2 separate regions of the Homo sapiens genome follow, and region 1 is linked to region 2. The links are contacts of gene promoters, found by promoter capture Hi-C in human tissues and cell types (Jung and others, 2019). All regions are on one chromosome and are shown on one strand. Each heading gives the region's core, a stretch centred on a gene start or on the middle of the fragment in contact. The rest is flanking DNA. Distances are from core to core; before and after follow the strand shown.

What was found. Contacts are between HindIII fragments. The study calls those that stand out against the background at their distance.
Region 1: a contact is called between a fragment that was not itself captured here and the fragment with the promoter of TEDDM1 in region 2, in 1 of the 25 tissues and cell types used here (hippocampus).

Annotation. Positions count from the first base shown.
Region 1 is chr1:182,365,997-182,371,248 of GRCh38, forward strand. No RefSeq gene overlaps it. Among named protein-coding and RNA genes, the nearest start is that of GLUL, 23 kb to the right of the region's middle. The HindIII fragment of the contact is 9,592 bases long and covers 1-5,252 here.
Region 2 is chr1:182,397,296-182,402,358 of GRCh38, forward strand. It overlaps TEDDM1 (transmembrane epididymal protein 1), which reads right to left and starts at 3,372. Exons shown (of 1, transcript NM_172000.4): 1 at 822-3,372. The coding sequence starts at 3,190. The coding sequence ends at 2,369. The HindIII fragment of the contact is 14,950 bases long and covers 1-5,063 here.

The DNA of each region.
Region 1 (5,252 bases), core at 338-2,837, 33 kb before region 2:
GGAGTTCAAGACCAGCCTGAATCAACATGGCGAAACTTCATCTTTACTTAAAATACAAAAATTAGCCAGGAGTAGTGGTGCATGCCTGTAATCTCAGCTACTCGGGAGGCTGAGGCACGAGAATCGCTTCAACCTGGGAGGCAGAGGTTGCAGTGAGCCAAGATCACACCACTGAGCTCCAGCCTGGGCAACAGAGCAAGACTCTGTCTCAAAAAAAAAAAAAAATTTTGAGGAAAGATGGGACATAATCTGATTTAGGTTTCTAAAAGATTACTCTGGTTGCTGTTGGGGAATTAATTAAAGATTACAGTTGAAGAAGAAAGACCATTTATGAGGTATAATATAATTACGACTGAGAGATGATGGTGACTTGGACTAGAAATTGATGGTAGAGAGGATAAAAATGGAAGGATTCAAAATATAATTGTCAATAAAATGTGCACTATTTGCTGATGGACAAGATGGGGAGAAAGCATGCCATAAGTGGAAAGGAGAAATCAAGGTTCATCACCAGGTGTAGGGTAACAATGGAAGGTGCCAGAGAGATAAGGAAGAAGAGTCTTAGAAAGAGGGTCTGAGGCCAAGTGTGGTGGCTGACACCTGTAATCCCAAGACTGTGGGAGGCTGAGGCTGGAGGATTGCTTGAGTCTAGGAGTTTGAGATCAGCCTGGCCACATAGTGAGACTCTGTTGCCACAAAAGTTTAAAAATTGGCAGGGCATGGTGATACATGCCTGTGGTCCCAGCTACTCAAGAGGTTGAGGTAAGAGAATTGCTTGAGCCCAGGAGGTCAAGGCTGGCGTGAGGCATGATTGCATCACTGCATGTACTCCAGCCTGGGTGACAGAGCAAGACCTCGCCTCAAAAAGAAAGAAAGAGAGAGAGAGAGAAAGGGAGGAAGGGAGGGAGGGAGGAAGGAAGAAAGTAATAAAGGAAGGAAGGAAGGAAGGAAGGTAAGGGCTCTGAAATCAGTAGTTCCATATTGGACATATTCAAGTTTTAGATTCTTATTAGAAATCCATTCAATGGTGTGGTGTCATAAAAAATGAAAAAAGGGAGAAATCCAAGTGGGGTTGTCAAGTAGGTAGTGGGATGTACAAGTCAGAGCCCAAGAGAGAGATATGGACTGAAACTAAAGATTGGGACATGTAAACGGAATGAGATTACTTATGGAGAGAAGTACATTAAAAACAGTCTAGAACAGAGCTCTGGAAAATCTCAAAAATTTAGAGGTTGGAGCCAGTCAAAGGAGGAGAAGCCAGGTAAAGAGATTGAAAAGGAAAGGCCAGATGTGGTGTGGAGGATGAGGAAGAGCCAAGAACCCATGGAGATATCTGGGAAGCCAAGAGCTCTGGACTCATACGTCCAGCTGGCCGTGAAGGAAAGCCTTGTCTGTTAAGACAATGAGATGGGGGGAATGTGCAGAGAATAAGTTAGGACTTTAAACAAAGCCACAAACCAGGGGCCCCAGGGAGCACAGTTAGAAAGGTGTGATATGAGGAAGAGAAGAGTACATTGGTCCGCATTAAGGACTGTGTGGAGCAGTGTAGGTGTGAAGACCCTGTGATAAAATTTGAGGTTTGAAGCTCTGCTGAATTCAGAAAAACAGGGAAGGCCAGGTGTGGTGGCTCATGCCTGTAATCCCAGCACTTTGGGAGGCCGAGGCAGGTGGATCACAAGGTCAGGAGTTTGAGACCAGTCCGTCCAGTATGGTGAAACCCCGTCTCTACTAAAAAATACAAAATTAGCTGGGCATGGTGGTGCGCACATGTAGTCCCAGCTACTTGGGAGGCTGAGGCAGGAGAATCGTTTGAACCTGGGAGGCAGAGGTTGCAGTAAGTCAAGATCATGCCATTGCACTCCAGCCTGGGTGACAAAGCGAGACTCCATCTCAAAAACAAAAAAAAAAACCAAACAAAACAGAAAAACAGGGAAGGGGGCTTGATGGAATTGGTCTTGGGTAATCAGCTCAAAGTATGGTCCAGAATAGTCTTAATGTACGGAGGAGGGGACTAGGCTTTTAGCAACAAGCTCTCATCTGCAGTTTAGAGTATTATAATTCCCACTCTACAAGTATAAAAAAATTAATCTGGATGAATTTAAGTAAATCAGTGCCAGATGGAGAGTGACCAAAAGTCCTTGGAGTCCAAAATCAAGGTTTTGCTCAGCACTCTAAAGCCGGCTGTTAGGTATTTCCTGAACTGAACTAATAAGAACCATTTGAGATGGTTCATAAAAATACATACTCCCTCTCTCCCTCCTCTGGAGTTAGGTCTAGAGTGATTTTTAAAGTTTACAATTATCTCATACTGCAGGTATAGAAAGGAAATGGTGCTAAGAACACAGAAGTCTTTGGCTTGGGTAGTTTGGAATTTCAGAGGACTGACTCTTCTATGGTTGTGATGTTTGAGGAAAAGGTGGAAGGAAGGTGAAAGTTTATTTCTAGCTTAGTCTAGTGTCTCCCTGACAGTTAAAAACAAATAGCATGCAAATAAGTGCTTTGCTTTTTGAAAAGCAAAACATATGTGGCCAAAGAATATACTCGCTGCATACTAATTGCCACTTTCATATTGAGAAAGCATTTTAGAGACTTCAGGGACACCACCCTTAAATGCTGTGTTCCTTTCTTTACTCGAATCTCCCCTCTACCTGCCTTATAGGAATATCCTGAAGCTGCGACAGGTTTGCTATCCCGTAGTACTTAGATGGAGGGAGCCCAGTGAACAGTGAGAATCATAGGGGAAAATTCAAGCTGTTTGTGTTCCCTCCCATCTGTTTATTTTATCTCCCACTGCAGTACTTTAAAAATATATTAGAGCCATCTTTGTTACGCTTAAGTCTTTTCAGATCACAAAGGAAAGCGAAAAAGGATATGACATATTTCCTTCAGGATCTTCTCTTGTTCTCTCCCTTCTCTATCCCAGCAGAAAGTCACCTCCCAGTCAGTGTTCATTAAAAACTGGACGGCTCTGCTTTGCAAGGGAGAAGACAGAACACGGAGGCACCAAGAAGTCAAACTTCCCTGAGTTATAAATGTGCCTTTTCTGTGACATGAAAGCAAAGGACCACGCACCAAGAATACAGTTTCTTTTTTGTTGTTCTTCTTCTTTTTGAGTCACAGTGTCACTCTTGCTTAGGCTGAAGTGACATGATCATAGCTCACTACAGCCCAAACTCCTGAGCTCAAGTGATTCTCCCACCCCAGCCTCCTGAGTAGCTGGGATGACAAACGTGCACCACCATACCTGGCTATTTATTTATTTATTTATTTATTTATTTATTAGACATGGGGTCTTTCTATGTTGCCCAGGCTAGTCTCAAACTCCTGGGCTCAAGGGATCCTCCCACTTCAGCCTCCCAAAGTGCTGAAATTACGGGCACGAGTCATGTTGTCTGGCAGAAGAATATAGTTTCTAAAATAAAACGGTGCCATGTCACAAAAAATTAAAACAGAAAGAGATCCGTAACTCTTGCAACTAAAATAAACACACGCTGTTGTCGCATTCATACAATGGTATACATAGGGAAGTTCTCACTGCCATTTTAAGGATGAGAAAAAAAGACTCTGAGTCCTAGCAAACTGCAGGGCTACACTACCTGGGATCAGATCCTTACTGCTTCTTACCAGTGTTTGGTCATTGGCAAGTCATTTAACCTTTAAGTACCTCAATTTTCTTCTCTATAAAATGAGGATAGTAAGGCCAAGCACAGTGGCTCATGCCTGTAATCCCAGCCCTTTGGGAGACTGAGGCAGGCAGATCACTTGAGGTCAGGAGTTCGCGACCAGCCTGGCCAATATGGTGAAACCCCATCTCTACCAAAAATACAAAAATTAGCCAGTTGTGGTGGCAGGTACCTATAATCTCAGATACTCAGGAGGCTGAAGCAAGAGAATCACTTGAACCTGGGAGGCAGAAGTTGCAGTGAACAGAGATGGTGCCACTGCACTCAAGGGCAATAGAGTGGGACTCAGTCTCAAACACACACACACACACACACACACACACACACACACACACATAATAATAATAAAATGGGGATAGTAATAGTAACACTACCTCATAGAGTTATTGTTCAATTAAATGAGTCAACACAACTTAGCATGCAACAACTACAATGCAGGGAAAAAAAACAACAGACCTTTTTTTTGGGTGAGGGGCAGGGGACAGGATCTCATTCCAATTGCCCAGGCTGGAGTGCAGTGGCACAATTTTGGCTCACTGTAGCTTCAACCTCCTGGGCTCAGGTGATTGTCCCACCTCAGCCTCCCCAGTAGCTAGGACCACAGGCTCATGCCACCACGCCTGGCTAATTTTTGTACCCGCTTCAGCCTCCTAAAGTGCTGGGATTACAAGCGTGAAACACCATGCTCGGCCAACAATAGACTTTTCAGATAAAGTCTTTTATCATATAGAATTTTGTAGAGCTTATAATTTTTTAAAGCACAAGCTCAAAAGATAGAGGAATACAAGCAAATAGCTTAGATCCCTAAGAATTCATCCACTCCTTCAACAACATTTACTGATTATCTTCTAGGAACTTGGCTAGACACCAGAAGCAGATGCCAGTAACAGGTTAGAGGGTTCTGAATTTGCACCCACACCATGTCACTTTATTTCATTTGCTTTAATCAAATTAAATCTGAAGCCAATAATGGTGGTGCTGAGACATGGCCTGGTGGCTTTAGTAATACCATTAGAATCCCTACTCAGCCATTCCAAATAGATTTACAAACTAAGTAAAAATAGTGTCCCTGCTATGCAAACGCAGCTCCCTCATATGTCTTCTAGCTGCCCTCACACCCAAAGGGCTGCCCTGTCTCTCTTTTTAAAAATGAAGCTCTCACTTAACTCTGAGCCTTCATCCCGTCAGCCTGGCAGGAAATTCTGCAGTGTTGCTGGGGTCCGTATCCCTGCCCAGACTTGGAAATAAATTCAAGAGAATTACCTAGTGCCCAGAAAGCAAGGGAAAGGTAGCAAGTGGCTGCAGCTATATGGTTAAAGATCCTGTGGTCTCTCGGAAGCAGGTGGCCTGCTCAGTTCTTTGAACCAGCCTCTTCAGGTCCTATAGTCCATTCCATTTTTCTAAAAAGTTCTCTCACCTTCCCAGCATCCCCTCATCTCCCACAAGCAATGTCAATGTCTTTTCTGTCTTGGGGAATATTTCCTTCAAGGATTCTCGGGGGGTCCCTTTCTTGGGTAGCCTCCTCTCCCATTCCCCATAAGATTCAGTGTTTGAGCTTTCACTAAGGAC
Region 2 (5,063 bases), core at 2,122-4,621:
TATCCCCAGCTCTTGCTTTGGATCTGAGCCCAGAAATGTAAGACCCAGCCAGAAGTTGAGAGTCTGCCAGATTCTCACCCCCCGGGGGAGATGGGGGTCAGGGTAGGGGACAGAAAGTGTTGCATAAACCCACTCCTAAGGGAGGTCTAGGGTGTTTACACTGTGCTGTTTGCTTTACCTGGGCTTTCTGGCTTGTTTTCTTTTCTTTCTTTCTTTCTTTCTTTCTTTCTTTCTTTCTTTCTTTCTTTCTTTCTTTCTTTCCTTCCTTCTTTTCTTTTTTCTTTTTTTTTTAAGACATAGTCTCACTCTGTCACCCAGGCTAGGGTGCAGTAGTGCAATCTCAGCTCACTGCAACCTCCGCCTCCCAGGTTCAAGTGATTCTCCTGCCTTAGCCTCCCAAGTATCTGGGATTATAGGTGTGGGCCACCACACCTAGCTAATTTTTGTATATTTAGTAGAGACAGGGTTTCACCATGTTGACCAAGCTGGTCTCGAACTCCTGACCTCAAGGGATCCGCCCGCCTTGGCCTCGCAAAGTGCTGGGATTATAGGCGTGAGCCACAGTGCCCAGCCGTCTTTCTTCTTTCTTTCACAATTTCATTTTTTTCATTTTGAGATAACTTGTTTCTCCATTGCCATTAGCAAAGTCACTGTGGCCCAGAGGACACAGTCACACTTGCGTCAGACACACCTGCACTTAAATTCCTGTGTTGCCTCATACCAACTGTGAGACTTGGGCAAGTCAACCTGCTGGAGTCTCAGTTTTCTAGAGACTCCTTATAGAAACATTTGTGAGGATTAAAAACAATAACAGAGTCAACTTCAGAAACAAGTTACTGGATTTTATTATACCCCAAAACAAGGAAGAGAGTGGGTGCATTACTAAGGCAGTGACTCAGTGTTCAGGACTGTTGTTGTCACCCAGAGAGATTCACAAAACCTCCAACCTGTCCAGCAATACATTTAGAAGAAACAGGATTAGGGAAGACTCTGGAAGCAAAGAAGGCTTTATTAAACATAACCATGATCCATAGCTGGAGTATACATAGGAAATTTGGTAACTTGGATAAGGCAAAGTCTTTTCCCTTTAGGAGCCTGTACTTTAGTGGGTGAGGAAGAACCTTCTGAAAGAAAATGATTTCAGCAGCAGTATAAAAGAAAGTGGGTCACCTGTATGAGCAAACTAACAAAGCAGATTTAATGTAAGTGCCCAAGAGTTCCAAAACAAGGGAATCAGTAAGAGTTCTGGAGAAGGCCACCTTGGGGATACTTGGTGCGGTGTGGGGGTGGATGTAGGTTTATTCTGGGAATCGAATAACATGGTAAATATGTGACTGTAGGATGACTGGCTGTGATTTGCAAGGAAAAGAAATTTGCAAAGACCCAAGAATGGTATCTGCTAAATTGCATGTGCAAGGGTGGTCATGGTGAAAAGGAAAGTTTGGGCTAGAATAAGAGTAATAAAATGAGAAGTCAGGGAAGTACCAAGCATTTGAATGCTATAAAAATGCTATAGCAGTTGAATTCTATACAAATTTAAATTATGGAAATTTGAAATGTTATTAAGTATTTAAAAAGTCTCACTTTATATGTAAAGTTTGAAATGAAGCCAATTCTTGAAAGCTGCGGAGAGAGAAGGAGGCAAAGCGAGCATAATTTCAGCCTGTATGAATTAATTATAAATTCTATCATGCTATTTCCACATGGTGGCACCACTTTGGTGAGCACGTAAAGTACCCACTTTTCTTTATCAAGATGAGATTTGAATGGGTCCAGTTTTGAGTTGTGAGAAGTCTTTATTCCCTCAGGTAAAAGGCAATCCCTTGTGCCTGATGACGCTAATGACAGCATAACTGCTAGACTCTGTTCTCCTCCCTTCACAGCTCTTCCTTTTGTTGCATTCTCTTCCCCCAGTGGCTTTTCTTGCACACTAAGAAGAAGTGTTCTCCTCGTCCTTTTCCCTCCCTCCCGCAAATCCCATCAGCGTCTCTTTCTCAATCCCTCTCCCCTTATCTTCTCAGTAATTAGAGGCTCAGGGACAGAAAATGCACCAGCACGGGCATGGTGGCAGGCTCCTGTAATTGCAGCTACTCGGGAGGCTGAGGCAGGAGAATCGCTTGAACTCGGGAGGCGGAGGTTGCACTGAGCTGAGATTGTGCCATTGCACTCCAGGCTGGGCAACAGAGCGAGACTCTGTCTCAAAAAAAAAAAAAAAGAAAAGAGAAGAAAAGAAAATGAACCAGCAGACGGGACCAACTGCTAGCCTTCAAGGCCATTACCTTTACCAAGGAGGGTACCATGCTCGTGGCTGAGGAGCCAACAGGAGGAAGATGAGGTGGACGATGTGCCAGCCACTGTAGGCCCTGTCTCAGGGGGAGCTCTTTGGAAGGAGGAGAGCCTGGTCCTCTTTCTCTGACTGCTCCACTTCCTGTAGCAACTTGTAGAGGGGTCCTGGAGTGCTTGCATAATATGGAGCTTCTTTGGGCCCAGTCAGCTTCAAGCTGGGTCTGAAACAATGATACCAAAAGGAAGAGAAGCCATAGATTCCCAACAGGAATGAGGCATTGATCATCACATGCCAGCAGAAGAAGGTGGTGACAAACATGATGTCACTGATGTCATCGTCCTGCCATGGGTAGCCAGAGACGGGTCTGTATAGAATAAAGCCTGCCTGCATCAGCCAGGAGCCCATCATCAGAATCAGAAAGGTCTCCATCAGCTGGAGATGACACATGTTGGGAGCCCACAGCTCTGCAGTCAACACCAGCAACAGCAGGAACACCACCAAGATGAGCAGAGAATAAACGTGCAGCTCCACCCCTTCTGAATCTTTAACATGTGACACCATCAGCAGCAGGAGCTCGTAGATGATCAGGACCAGGGTACCTTTTTCTAGGCCCACACACCTCTGAGGCAGCACATTCTTGCTCATGAAGTCCACACAGCCATTAAGAGTGAGGAGGATGAACATGGTGAGGTGCTGCCACTCTTTGGGGTACATGAACCTTGATGGCACTTGCTTCCTCATGAGCACCATCCCGCCATCAAGACAGAGAACCACATAAAATGTTAAGAGGGAGCCAGTCACTATCTTTAGTAATCCTCCATAGGCTATTTTCCACAGCCTGGCACATCTTTGCTTATTCCTGGGAGAGCACAAAGGATACAGGAGACAACCTTTGAGTATCATGCCCTTGGAGACCACTGTGGCCTGATATAGTCCATAAGAGAAAAGAAATAGCCCCAGTTAAAAATGGCCAATGGACTTTCCCATGGAATACAGGCCTGTCCGACTGAAGCGTGAAGAGCAATACTCAGGACCTCTCTGCTCTCCTCTCCCTCACAGGCCTCTCGAGTTCTGGGCCTATATATACAGAGCTAAGTTCTACCTACTTTTATCATCTCCTTCTGCCCACTGCTCTCTCACAGACTGGAAAGTTCTGGACAGGAGCCTAGGTTTTTAGTGAGGTGGGTCTCATTGTTCCATTTCATTCCAGTACACTGGGAACTAATTGAGTTCTGCCAAAGTAGAAACATAAATATTTTTTAGTATGCACCTGTGGGAATTTGTGCTCTCAGGAGCTCTGCTTTTGGACCCTTGAGGACCTTCTGGTTACACTTGTCCCTCTCTCTCATGGCTTGCTTCCTTCTGCCCCTGTTCAATGCTCGGAGTAGAAAAAGAGAGGTGCCTGAGCACGGAGATTATCCAGAGAAGACCCGGGTTACTCACAAACCTTAATGCATCCTTTAAGACTCCTTACTCGGACAGGCATGGTGGCTCAAGCCTGTAATCCCAGCACTTTGGGAGGCCAAGGCAGATCTCGAGGTCAGGAGTTCGAGATCAGCCTGGCCAACATGGTGAAATCCCATCTCCACTAAAAATACAAAAACTAGCTGGGCATGGTAAAGAGTGCCTGTAATCCCAGCCACTTGGAAGGCTGAGGCAGGAGAATTACTTGAACCCGGGAGGCGGATGTTGCAGTGGGCCAGGATCATCTCACTACACTCCAGCCTGGGTGACAGAGCGAGACTGTCTCAAAAAAAAAAAAGACTCCTTACTCATATGTTGGGTCATATACTGAGAGCAAATACATTCTTCCTAGACATAAAAGTTTATAAACGTTTGGATGTGTGCTCATATATATAGATACTGAGCTCTTGTCCTCTTCATTCTTCTGTAACAGTTTTTGGGGATCACAAAGAAAGCAGCTCAATTGCCCCAAATTATCTTTCCAAAGAACAGTAGATGAATGTAAAATGTCACCTTTTGAGATCAATTTTGGAATGTTAAGGTATAATTTTTTATTAAAATGCAGATATGTTGAGATAAGTAGATCCAACAAACTGCTTATATTTTAATGTGAATTAGGTCCTCAACTTTATTCTCTCTTTAATTATCATTTACTATGTGTCTAACACATATAGGCAGAAAGAGTTCTAAGCACTAGGTAGCAGCCAGCTGCATATGAGGGGTTGCATCCAAGGCAAGAGTCTTCATTTATTTATTTTTATTTCTATTTTTATTTTTATTTTTAGACAGTGTCTCGCTTTGTTGCCCAGGTTGCAGTGCAGTGGCTTGATGACGGCTCACTGCAGCCTCAACCTCCTGAGCTCAATCAATCCTCCTGCCTCAGCTGCTGAGTAGCTGGGACAACAGACATGAGCCACCACATCCAGCTATTTTTTGTAGAGATGAGGTCTCACTACATTGTCCATGCTGGGTCTCAAACTCCTGGGCTCAAGTGATCCACCCACCTCAGCCTCCCAAAGTACTGGGATTACAGGCGTGAGCCACCGTACCTGGCCCCATTTATTTATTTATTCATTATTTTTTATTTTTTAAAATGAAAGCACATTTATTAAGAAAAAAAGGAATAAAAGAATGGCTACTCTATAGGCAAAGCAGCCCCCATTTATTTTTTTTATAAAAATTAATGTCTATATAGCCCCTCCTTATCCATGGGTGATACTTTCTAAGACTCCCAGTGGATGCCTGAAACCTGGGATAGGTTAGTACTGAACCCTACATATACTGGTTTCCCCATACATGTATACATACCTAT